Regions from separate parts of the Homo sapiens genome. Here region 1 is linked to region 2. Evidence: promoter capture Hi-C in human tissues and cell types (Jung and others, 2019). All regions are on one chromosome and are shown on one strand. The core of a region is centred on a gene start or on the middle of the fragment in contact, and the rest is flanking DNA. Distances in the headings are between cores, read along the strand shown.

Region 1 (6,533 bases), core at 2,121-4,620, 260 kb after region 2:
GATGCAGGCTGGGTGTGGTGGCTCATGCCTGTAATCCCAGCACTTTGGGAGGCTGAGGCAGGCAGATCACGAGATCAGGAATCAAGACCATCCTGGACAACATGGTGAAACCCCGTCTCTACTAAAAATACAAAAAAAATAGCCAGGCGTGGTGGCGTGTGCCTGTAGTCCCAGCTACACGGGAGGCTGAGGCAGGAGAATCACTTGAACCCGGGAGGCGGAGGTTGCAGTGAGCTGAGATCGTGCCACTGCACTCCAGCCTGGGTGAGAGACTGAGACTCTGTCTCAAAACAACACACACACACACACACACACACACACACACACACACACTGGGTGAGAGACTGAGACTCTGTCTCAAAACAACACACACACACACAACACACACACACACACACACACACACACACACACTCCTGATGCAGAGGATTAAGAGCTGTTGAGCTGTTTTGTTTGTGGGGTTTTTCGGCCAGTGATGGGGGTAGGTTGTGGGGGCTGGTTGGAGGAACAGCATGGGTAGAGAAAAGGGCAGGCCCTAAATTTCTAGGAAAGATGAACATCAGAGAAGATTACTGATAAAAGCCTTGAGGTTTTTAGAGGTTTTCGTCATCTTTTCATTTGTAATTGAAAGGGAAGGATAAAAAAATGTTTGGGCTTTTCCTCCACACCTCAAATCTCACTCACAAACTCTACGATATCAAGGACAGAAGAATTATAAAATATATCAGAAACCAAAATTTAAGGATAAATGGTTTTAGGCAGGCTTTCACTTAAAGCAACTGTTAGAGATCTAAGTTTAAAATGAACATCACCAGTGTTATGTAACTAAATTTTCATGAATCATAGTTACTCACTCATTAAAAGGGGGCGTGGTAGCAATCTTAAAAATTAATATATGCTCCTAAGGTTGGCAGCAAACCAACTCATCTATTTAAAATATCCTTCTCAACCTTACTCTCCATGTTTTATGAAAATATCATGGGGGAGGGGCATTGGATGAGTAATTAGGCAACTAAATATAGAAAATGATATAAAAGAAGCTATTTTAAAAAAAAACAAACAAACATAAAGAATGCAAAACAAACTTACCCAAAAAAGATGAAGGCATTCTGGAAAAATACAGCAATTCCAGGGTATACTATGTCTTTTTCTGTAAAAATAATTGCAGTGTTTAGAGGGTTATGATCTCAAAACATTTAGTTTCAGATATATTGGCAAATACCAGTTTTCCTGCCTAGAAGAATTGATTTTTCTTAGAATTAGGGTTGGCTTGAGTATTAAAAGACATAATGTGTAACAGAGTCTAGCATGGCTTTAGTAAATGATAGCTCCCTTAGTTCACTTAACAAATATTTACTGGGGGCATACTGTATGCTGGCCCTATTTAATACTGAGGATACTGCAATAAACAAAACAGGTAAAATTTTTTTTGCCCTCATGGAACTAGAGAATATACTGAATAAAAAGAAGATAAAATAATGCAGGAAAGGTGGAGAAGTGTAGTGTGACATTGGACACAGATGGCCAGGAAGACCCCATGAGAAGGTGACACTGGAGTAAGGACACGCAGGAAGTGGGGAAGAAGCCATGCACACGCCCTGAGGGAGCACGCCAGTGAATTACAGGAACAGCCACGTAGGCACAAGAGGGAAGAGCAGGGACAGGGTAAAGAAAGAGGGCAACTGGGCAGCAGAGACCTGGCAGTCACAGTGAGGACTCTGATTTTTACTCTGAGTGAGACGAGAAGCCACTGGGTTGTGAGCAGAAAAGTGATCTGAGATGACATATTTTAAGAGGATCCCTCTGGCTGCTGTGCTGAGGGTAGATTAAAGGAGGCAAGAGAGGAAACAGAAACCAGTTAGGAGGCTCTTCCAGGAAATCAGGTGAGAGATTATGATGGATTGAACCAGGGTGGTAGCAATGGAGAGATGGTAAATGGTGGTTAGACTCAGGATATATTTTACAGCACAGTCAACATGATCTGCAGATAGATTGGATATGGGGCGTGGGAGGAAGACAAATGTCATCTTTGACAGGCCTTCACCATCTAGGGCTTTTGGCCTAAACACCTGGAAAGATAGAGTAGCCAGCCATTAACTAAGATTGGAAGGACTGCTGGAGCAACATTTTTTTCTGATTGTATCTAGAAGTGAAGTTGAAATTCTCATAAATTTCTACTACTGGAATTGTTAATGACTGCTCATTGACAGAGGCACAATAAATAGGTGAACTGTCAAATTTTTCTCATTTCAGAACAGCTTTGGTTAATCTGATTAACATAACAGATGGTTTGCATAGGTCTTCACCACTATTTCACGTTAAATAACCATTACCACTAGAATGGCTTCTAAAAATGTTATAAAGCCAACTTTATAAAATTACAGATCTGCTGCTAATAATTCTCAAAACATAACCTTGCTCCAGAAGCTTTCAGGAAAATAGCCTAAAATTATGAGATAAAGACATTCCTATAAAAAGGGACCCTGTATTAATAGTTGTATCTGGGAAAGAATTATCAGTAATTTCATTTTCTTCTTTTGAGTTCTTTTATATTCTTAGTTTTCTATAATGAATAAGCATTATGCAATTCCCATGATAACAAGGTAATTTTTTTCCTTTTTTTTTGTTTTGATTTTTGAGAGGGTCTCCCACTGTTACCCAGGCTGCAGTGCAGTGGCGTGATCGCAGCTCACTGCAACCTCCACCTCCCAGGTTCAAGAGATCTCGTGCCTCAGCCTCCCAAGTAGCTGGGATTGGAGGTGTGTGCCACCATGCCTGGCTAATTTTTGTATTTCTAGTAGAGATGGGGTTTTGCCATGTTAGCCAGACTGGTCTCAAACTCAAAATATATACATTTTAAAATATATAGATGGCTGGGCGTGGTGGCTCACTCCTGTAATCCCAGCACTTTGGGAAGCCAAGGCAGGTGGATCACCTGAAGTCAGGAGTTCAAGACCAGCCTGGCCAACATGGCAGAACCCTGTCTCTACTAAAAATACAAAAATTAGCTGGACATGGCGGCAGGCGCCTGTAATCCCAGCTACTTGGGAGGCTGAGGCAGAAGAATTGCTTGAACCTGGGAGACGGAGGTTGCAGTGAGCTGAGATCGCATCACTGCACTCCAGCCTGGGCAACAAATATACATATAAAAAACAGATTTTATAGCAGCAAAAGAACAACTAACTTATAATATCATGTGAAATGCAAACGGGGGATAAAAATTATGATAATAACTAAAAACATAAGAAAAAAGGAAATAAACCAAAATATTGAAGAGTGGTGAAATTATTATTACTTCTTTTTCTTTTTTTCTTTTCTTTTCTCTTTTTTTGAGACAGCGTCTCACTTTGTCACCCAGGCTGGAGTACAGTGGCACAATCACAGCTCACTGCAATCTCTGCCTCCCGGGCTCAGGTGATCCTCTCACGTCAGTCTCCCGAGTAGCTGGGACCACACATGCACGTCACCATAGTCGGCTAAATATTTATTATTTGTAGAGATGGTGTCTCCCTATGTTGTCCAAGCTGGTCTCAAAATCCTGGCCTCATGCAGTACTCCCTCCTTGGCCTCCTGAAGTGCTGGGATTACACTGCACCCACCCTTTTTTATTTTCTACAATTTTGGTAACATGATTTTAATAATAAATTACACATGGCTAGGCCTAGTGGTTCACACCTGTAATCCCAGCACTTTGGGAAGCTGAGGCAGGCAGATCACTTGAGCCCAGGAGTTTGAGACCAGCCTGGGCAACATGGTGAAGCCCCATCTCTACAAAAAATACAAAACTAGCAGGGCGTGGTGGCATGCGCCCGTCATCTCAGCTACTCAGGAGGCTGAGTGGGAGGATTGCTTGAGCCTGGGAGGTGGAGGTTGCAGTAAGCTGAGATTGTGCCACTGCATTCCAGCCTGGGTGACAGAGCAGACCCTGTCTCAAAAAATAAAAAAAATAATTAAAATAAAATTAAAAATACAAATATTTGGAAATATCTATTACTCCCATCTATGAGATTAAATGATTTTAATAAAAATTTAGGAAACATTATTTTAATCTACAAGTTACATTTTATTCAAATAAGTGTTAAAATATGAGCAGAATATATATAACCTGGTCCAGTTTTTATAAATCATTAATACTGTATTTTTACTATGACACCCATAGCAATTTTACCTGGACCATTAAATGGGTTTTCTGTTTTTCTAGGGTCCCTCAAGGTGAAATTTCTCCCAGGGTCTAACAGTATACCTTTTCCTGAGCTTGCCTTAAAGTGGCCTTATATAGCAGATGTATATTAAATGTTAGTTTACTTTTCTGTCTGAAAGGAGGTGACATCATATTACCAGGGAGGCTTAACTGAATAAATCTCAATTCTGGGATGTTAGAGCTTTGCACAGATATTCTGAAAGTCAGAACTTGTTAGGCCAGGCTTGAGGCCAGGAGTTCAAGGCCAGCCTTAGCAACATAGCAAGATCCATCTCTATAAAAAATTTAAAAATTAGCTGGGTGTGGTTGTGTGTGCTTGTGGCCCTAGCTACCTGGGAAGCTGAGGTGTGAGGATGGCTTGAGCCCAGGAGGTTGAGGCTGCAGTGGGCCATGATCATGCCATTGCACTCCAGCCTGGGTGATAGTGAGACTCTTGTCTCTAAAAAAGAAACAAAGCTTGCTAACTAGCTAGATAACATATGTTCTGCTTTTGAGATTTTTGGAAGCCAAAGAAAAGCAGTGTTTAGAGCTGTCTCATCCCTTCCAGGCTCTGGATAAGAAGAAAAATGACTGAAGAAAGGAATACTAAAAATATATAAGACAAAGAAAACCAAACACTGTCGGTGGAGGGTGGGGGGTCCCGGATATAAATGCATCGCTAGTAGTTGGCCCAACTATAGGAAAAAAATTTTATTCTAAAATAACCAACTTTAATGCAAAATTCCAGTATTCCACTGAAGTAAATTGTAACCTATGTTTTCTCTTACCTTTAGCAACATAACCTCCAAAAAGAATCCACATAGATGCAATCAGAGATCCAAAGGCCAACATGAAACCAACGAAAAGCCAAATGCGAGCACCTTCAAAGAAATAATATTTTACCAGAATTCTTTCTTATAGGGCAGTACAATTAACTTTCAAAAAGAAAATAAAACCCAAACAGAAAAAAAAAAAGTGCAACTGCCATTAAAGTCTAACGTGAGAACAGTAAAGGATGTGTTAAACATCTTCATCAGTGTACCTGTTGGCCTTTTTCTTCTTGGTTGGTCTGTATAGATTTTTAAAAATTATTTATGAGTCTGTATAAGTGCATATACTTACTTTCCCCAACTGCCTACACTGAGAAAACCTATACTCAACCTTCCTATAAAACATCTCATAAAATCTGTTTCACCATATTTAGAGGCTCATTCTCCTTATGCTTTTATATAGACAATGATCCCACATTTTTTTTTTTTTTTTTTTTGAGGCAGAGTCTTGCTCTGTCTCCTAGGCTGGAGTGCAGTGGCGCAATCTCGGCTCACTGCAAGCTCCACCCGCCCAGGTTCATGCCATTCCCCTGCCTCAGCCTCCAGAGTAGCTGGGACTACAGGCACCCGCCACCACGCCCAGCTGATTTTTTGTATTTTTAGTAGAGACGGGGTTTCACTGTGTTAGCCAGGATGATCTCGATCTCCTGACCTTGTGATCTGCCTGCCTTGGCCTCTCAAAGTGCTGGGATTACAGCCGTGAGCCACTGTGCCCGGCCGCTCCCAGATCTTCCAAGAGTACTTTCAAACAGTAACACAGACATACAGTAAAAAATTCATATTCAGTGACATACGAATCTCCAAGCTACCATATTTCACTTTCAGGGAAGTTAGGCAGCAAAATAAATTCAAATTTACTGTGACTAGAACTTAGGAAGGTTGCATTAAAATTATGTTAACAGAGGAGGACAGGCAACTTTCAAATCACATTAACATGTTTATGAAGATTTGCTATAAATAAATGGAGTCATGACTGCCTAAAATGAATTCTGATAGGGCCTCTTTAATTTGCATAAATACATTTTAATAAAAACACTGCCTACACTCAATAAAGCACGGCAAATAGAATGTTATATATTAATTCCCAATTTCAAGCCCAAAACATAAAACAATAGATTCAAAATAATAAGCTGTTACTCACAGATATATTAAAACAAATAGAAAAGTGGTATTTCCATGTGAAATACTCATCTTAAGGATTTAAGCATGTATAATAAGATGCTGTTTGCACCTATTTACCTGTTTGACCCAGACAACCTTCACTGTAACTATCACCTCGGACTTGTCCATTCGATACTGCATTAATCCTGTATGAATAAAATAAAACCAAGAAATCAGGGTCCATGACACCAATTACCAGAAACAATAATCTACAGTTTCTCAAATGTAAGGTTAGGCCTGAAAGTCTTTTTTTTTTTTTTAAAGATACAGGGTCTCACTCTGTTGCTCAAGCTAGAATGCAGTGGCACAACCATGGCTTACTGCAGCCTTGAAATCCCAGGCTCAAGTGATCCTCCCACTTC
Region 2 (6,491 bases), core at 3,478-5,977:
CATGTGTGAGACAAGTCTGTTTGAACTTGAATCCATAAGAAACCCGCCTATGAATGACATCCCCCATTTCCTATATTATCCTCAGATCTGAAAGGCAAGGCTACTACCAAGCCTTCACCCCTTTACATTCCAGCCAACACCTTTACTCTTCGTGATTCCAAGCTGAGGGTAATGGGAATAATTAACTTAACCAACTGCCTGAATATCTATTCTTGGATAGGTGCTAGACAGAGATACAGCAGTGAACATCACGACCCCATCAACACCACCACTACCACCACACCATTGTCCCTGATTTCCAGTACAAGATATCTCAAAACAGAGTTCGGAAAGCCCAACCGCTATGGAGTCCCTGACCAGACTGCCAGTTCACTTAGGGGCCAGGGCCAGAAGCAAGAGGGTCTATAACCAGCTTATTCTCCTCTCCCTCACCCCATTTTACAGGAAGGTCCAGGAAGGAGAGGTGGGTTGCCCAAAGTCAGACAGTTGAGAGTGTGCTGAAACTCCAACCCATGTTCTGTGGGTCTCCTCTCTCCACCACATTGCTTTTGCCAAGGTTCCAAAATTGGAAAGTGAGGAAAAACAGTTGGTTCTAGTGACAGAGTGTTTCCTGACATATGCATGCCCAGAACCTGCAGCCTCAACCATCTTAACAACACAGACCTGGTGACCATGTCCATCTCTCGGGATGCTCATGAATGCACAGTATTGATCTAGAGTCCAAGTGTCCAGTTTTCATTCATGCTCATTTATCACCTTCTCTCTCTCCTGATATTTACTTTCACTTTAAAATCTTATAAGAACAGGGCCTTTTTTTATCTGATGCCAGCTCCCCCTCTGTTCCTTGGATTTAATCAATCCATGTCTGGAAATAAACAAACCAGGGAGGAAAGCAACAGTCCCTTTTGTGAAAACAGGCACCTTTCTAAAATGATCTACCCCTGGGCATGACGCAGATAGAATTTAAATGTGAAGGAAATAAAGACATTCTCCAGCAACCATCATATGCGTTCTTCCTGGGGTGGGACAGCAGGAATGGTAACTGTTAACAACTAAACCAAAACCCACTCTACATCTTTCAGGTTGTCGTGAGAGCGTGGTCAGTGGCAGGAAGCCTGAAGAGACAATAGGTTTCAAAACAACAGAAACCAGCCCTCTCTTCTTCAAGATTAGTAAGAGAGGGCTAGCTGAACACCAACTCCAAGTATATGCAGCATGCCTCCAGCTAGTACCAGGGGTGCAAGGAGATACCAGCTAGAAAGATCCAGACATCTGGTCACCAACTTAGACCTTCTCCCATCATGTTATTTTATACCCACCTGCAAAGCACAGAATCCTCACCCCTCTTCCCACCCTCCAGCCACTCCAGCAAGCATCATCCCAGACTCTGCTGGCAAAATAAATTGTCTTACACAGAGAGGGAGAATCAAGTTCCCTACTAGCCAGCCCTTCCTTCCTGCCATGACTCTCCAGCCCCTGGCATTCGGAAATGGACCACCATCTAAATGCAAACACAGAGAGTATCTCTTCTGAGGAAGATGATAGTTAATTCTTAATCCTTTGGGGGATCAGTTTGAAAATCTGATGGCACCTCTGGATGCCCCATGAAAAACTGCATGCATGCAATTTATATGTAATTTCACTGGGGGTCACTGCCCTACTGGGAGGTCGAGAGGGGCAAAAAGAGCCACTGTGCTCAGAAGCAGCTTTGAGAAAGAGCTATGGGTGGTCCAAGTGAGTATTCAACAGCGTAGTTCCTTAACAAGAAAGGGAGAAATGAATGCCCCTTACTTAGCTACTGCAAGTTCCAGCTGTCACTCAACCTGAGATTTCAACAGGAATCTGGAAACTGAGAGCACACAAACATGCACACACACATACACACCAAGCACTCAGTTTCCCTGTGGCTTCCTACTGTAACTTCACAAAATGTCCTGTGATTGCTAGTTAAGTCTCCAAACAGAGTAACAGAAAAGATAAGAAGTGGAAGAGAGGTGGGCGCTGGAAGGGAGGATGGTTCAGACAAGGAGAAGGGGATAATCTGGCTAAGCCCTCCATCGGCTCTGAGCAGGTCTTGACAGGGCAGGTCCTGATCCTTGCTGCCTGCTCTTCCTGGAAATCAGGGTCGAACTGCTGACTTCTTCGCAGCAAATCAAGAAGTCCAGGCAGAAGCAGCCCTTTCTTTCCTTTGAGTCCATGGGGAGGGGAGAGCATCCTCTCGTTTCTAGGGAGGAGACCCTGGCCCACAGCTTGCCCACGGCCCCCTCGTGGCCTGGGGGTGTCACTGCAGCCCCCTCTGCATTGCTGGGCACCATCCGCACGCAGGCAGTTCTAACAGTGGTCCAGCAGAATATTTAGTGGCAGTGGCAAGCTGGCAACTGTCTTCAAGCCTTGTGAGGCTGTGTTTGCTTTTGATTTCTTAAACTAAGACTCAGACTTAAAGTGATCCTTCTAAATCCCTCCTGGTACAATCCCTACAGGGAACCAGCTCAAGATCTGCTTCATTATGCCAATAACCTCGGAGCTTCTGTAATATGACCACTGCTTTATCATCTCTTCCTGCATCATATGCAATTATGTACAATTGTGTACAATTGTTCTGAAGCTCAATAAGCTCAATAGAAACAGAATGCACAACATCCTCTGGTTTGTAGGTTGCTTACTAGATTACAAAATATTTGCAGGACACCAAATACCCCCTTAAATCCTGGGTTTTTAGGTAAGCAGGTCCTATAGGGGTTTTGGACTTAAGGTCACACAGTGAAAAAGAATGGGACCAGTGGCTCTGTGTCCACAAATGCAAAAAGAGGGTGCACTAAGGAACCTGAACTCCACTCTCATTAGCAACTCCACAAAGGGAAGGAGTGGAGCTCACTGGGCCTGGGGGTTGGATACGACATACCAGAGTCTGGGAGTGAGGGGGCAGTTGGTCTAGGGGTTCAGCTGCCATCTGTCACGGTGGGGACGATTAACTGACCCGAGTGGTGGGAAACTGTGTAGGGAGGAAAGAAGGTGGGACATTTGGGAGGAAAGGGGAAGGTGCAAAGTGCAGTCTGCAGGGCCAGAAGTAGACCTGGGACCAGGAGTGACTGAGGCAAGGGAAAGGGGTGGGAGCGCCAGAGGGTCTTCTCTCCTTAGAGGGGGCAGTTGGTGGGAGGAGTTTGGGGGCTGAGTCCATACCTCCTTGATTTTCTCCCGCTGGGCTCGCACTTGGCTCTGGGGCTCCTGACTCTCATCGGCCCTCGTTCCCAGGACCGGGTGGCGGAGACGGCTCCGGAATGCGTTGAAGTCAAAGCGGAAAGGGACGCCCTCGTCCCCGGGCCTGGAGGCCGGGATGCTATTGCCCCGGGCCGCCGTGGCCTCCTCGCGGGGTCCAGTGGGGCGGGTGCGCCGCAGCCCCCCTTTCCTGCGGCGGGGACTGGCCCAGCTGCTGGGGTCATCCTCGCCCGGGGCCGGCGCGGCGGGGGCCGGGTTGGGAGGCGGCTCCTGCTCGCGGGCCGGGGCATGGCCGGCGATTTCAGCCACCACTTCCAGACCAGGCTGCTGGGTCCGGGGGGCCAGGAAGAGGCGCTTGAGGCGAGAGGAGTGGGGCAGCAGGAAGAGGGCCCCGAAGCACAGGGTGACCAGGCCCGAGAGGAAGAGGAGGAAGAGGAACTTCTGCGGCAGCCGCAGCCCCCACGGGGAGGCCGGGACGAAGCCGGGCACTTTCCTCATGAGCATCGTGGCCCGGCCGGTGGCTCCAGAAGCCCTCGGAGTCCAGGCACGTGTCTGCGGGGGCGCGGTGAGGGGAGGGCGTCCGGAGCGCCGCCCGGGATGGGGGTCCCTGGGCAGGGTTGCCAACCCTGAGAGTTTCGCCGCTTCGGGGGACTGTCCCCGAAGTTCAGGGAGTTTGGAGCGAGTCCTCCCGCGAGGAGGCGGGGGCGCAGCGGCCTCGGCGGGGCCCGGGCGAGCGGAGCGGCACGGCTTGGGGCCCGGGCCCGCAGCGACCGGCCGCGCGCCGCAGCCTCCCCTCCGGCCGAGCCCTCCCCGCCGCGCCGGGGCCCGCGCCTTCCCGCGCTGCGGCCGCCGGGACCGTCACATGCCGTCCGCGGCGTCCCGGCTGTCCGCGCCGAGGGGCGCCCGCAGGCCCGCACCAAGCCGCCCTCCGCCCCCTAGGCTCCCGCCCGCGCTGGTAGGCGCCCAAAGTTTCAGCTTCAGAAGCAGTTTCCGGAGGGGACCGAGGCGATGGGGGGCTGGCGTGTCAGCGCCGCCCCGAGCGCGCGCACACCCGGCCCGGTCGCGACAGCGCCCGGGCTCGACTATCGGGACACGTCCACAACTTTCTCCGCCGCGGAGAGGGCGCCGGGAGCTGGGAGCCGGAGTGGCCAGGGAGCAGGAGCAGGCACTTCCGAGCCTGCGGGGGCAGGGGGCTTCCCCCGGGCCCCAGACAGCGCAGGGATGCCTGGGTCCGGAGCCGCGGCTGGGCGGCTGCAGATGCGCCCGGGAGCGCGGGCTCCCGCCCCTCGAACTCGGCAGGGCGCGGGGCTCCCACTGGGATCACCTGTTCCCGGCCCCGCCGGCTCCGCGGAGCGCGCAGCCCTGGCCGCGCCTCCCCCGCTGCAGCTGTCTTCCTCGCAGCGGCCGCTCCAGACCGGCCGCTGCCGCCGAGCCTGCGCCCCACACGCGCGCACAGCCACCCGGCCGCCTCCACCGCCGTCCCCGCCGCCGCCGCCGCTCGGGCTTTCACTGCGACAGCGCCCGCCGCCCCGCCTCCTGCCGCCCGCCGGCCACGCCCGCCGGCCACGCCCACGCGCGCGCCCCGCGCCCCCTCCCGCCGCCGCCGCGCCGCAGCCGGCTGAGGGCCGCGCGTCCGGGGGCGGGGCAGAGGCCGAGCGCGGGCGGGAGCGCAGCCCGCTCCAAGCCCCGCCCTCCCCGAAGGGCAGGCGTCGCGCGCACCCCCCATCCAGCGGGCGCCAATGGTCCAGCGGCGCGGGGCAGGCGAGGGCGGGGGCGGAGAGCGCAACGAGGGCATTGGCTGCATCCGAGGGATCCCCGTTGGGCCACAGTCGTCCATTGGTTACTGCCCAGCCTTCGCTGGACCCCAAGCGACAGAGACCACCCCCCAGCCCGCCCGCGAGGCTCGGGTTGGTGGCCCCCGGAAGCGGGCCGGAGACGGTGTTGCTCTGGAGGGGTGTGCCCGTCGCTGGGTGACCTCTCTCGCCCCCGAGTGCCAGCCCGGGGTTGTCAGGGAGCTGGCAGCCCGCGCCCTGGCGGCTGCCCCGGGCTTCTCAGCGCTAACGCCGGGCTGCAGGGGTGCTGCTGGTGGCTGGAGCCAAGCCAGAGAGCTGTGACCGCGGCCGGGTCGGCGGAGGTGATGTTTCCACTGGCCCCCTCGCAGACCACTGGCGTGCCTTCCTTTTCCCACAACCCTAAACGGGGCCAGGGCTCCTGGGTGGAGCACGGAGGGAGGCTGACCGCAGCCTTGAGAAGCAGCGAAAGGAAGAGAGCCCCGGGCGTGTCTACAGAAGACCACACACATAATGTGACGGACGTCTACCTTGATGCCTACGTGTGTTTATATGCACATGTGTGCGTCTGGGCATAGATCTATATGCACACAGAGACTGGCATGTGGGTGTGTACATGCACTCAAACATACACTTAATTTGGGTATGGACACCCAAGTGATTATACCACAGTATGCATAGACATATATGTAAATTAGTACAAACATGGACATGTGCACCCGCATACCCACAGACACTCAGGCAACAGATAACCTCCAAAAACAGCCAGGCATCAACTCCCAGACACGCGTGTCCTCAACCCCAAGGCCCTCACATCTTCCTCCTTGGACTTAGTCTCTGCATCTTCCCTTCCTGTTAAACCTAACCCAGGGTGAAGCAACATTGTGCTGTGTGGGTCTTTCATGCAAAACACTTTATAGAGACAAATAACAGCAGAGGGAGAGACAAATTAAGAGGTTTGTAATAGGCAAGAGGGAAAATATCTACTTTCAGCTGCAATTTAAAATGAAATGCAGTGTTGACGAGACAGAAAATACTGCAGGGAAGCCTTTCCCGACAGAAGAAGCGGGCCAGGCAGGCTCTCGCCTCGTAAATCTTGCTTCTTCCCTGAGGCCTGCTGGGGATGGGCGGCTGGGACTCAGTCATCCTTCTACCTCTGGCCAGACCACTGACAGCAGACCCACCCTCGATGTTTAAATATCCCTGGCATGCAACTTTCTCTCAACTGAAAATGAAAGTGGGTAACAGGTGCAAACATTTTGGTCACTGGAGATGACTAATCCTTCCCAATCCCACAAATATATGCAGCTTAAATATAAAATTCTAATTCAGATATTTCAATCTCTTGTGAGTTTCGTTGGCAGGTTGATGTGGAGCCAGCTGTGCAAATCAGAGATAAGCATGTGACCCATTTGGGTGCAGGAGCCCAGAGACCTGGCCTGGCCTCACCCATGTCTCCAACACCCAAGCATCGCCTCACTGGGT

Evidence for each region. Contacts are between HindIII fragments. The study calls those that stand out against the background at their distance.
Region 1: a contact is called between a fragment that was not itself captured here and the fragment with the promoter of MAN1C1 in region 2, in 1 of the 25 tissues and cell types used here (lymphoblastoid cells).

What each region holds. Positions count from the first base shown.
Region 1 is chr1:25,351,410-25,357,942 of GRCh38, reverse strand. TMEM50A (transmembrane protein 50A) reads right to left here. Exons shown (of 7, transcript NM_014313.4): 4 at 6,250-6,317; 5 at 4,969-5,061; 6 at 1,090-1,150. Among named protein-coding and RNA genes, the nearest start is that of TMEM50A, 16 kb to the right of the region's middle. The HindIII fragment of the contact is 5,999 bases long and covers 371-6,369 here.
Region 2 is chr1:25,615,027-25,621,517 of GRCh38, reverse strand. It overlaps MAN1C1 (mannosidase alpha class 1C member 1), which reads right to left and starts at 4,727. Exons shown (of 12, transcript NM_020379.4): 1 at 3,181-4,727. The coding sequence starts at 3,720. RefSeq lists enhancers at 1-167, 1,036-1,085, 5,292-5,461 and silencers at 4,502-4,791, 4,812-5,101. The HindIII fragment of the contact is 13,132 bases long and covers 1-6,491 here.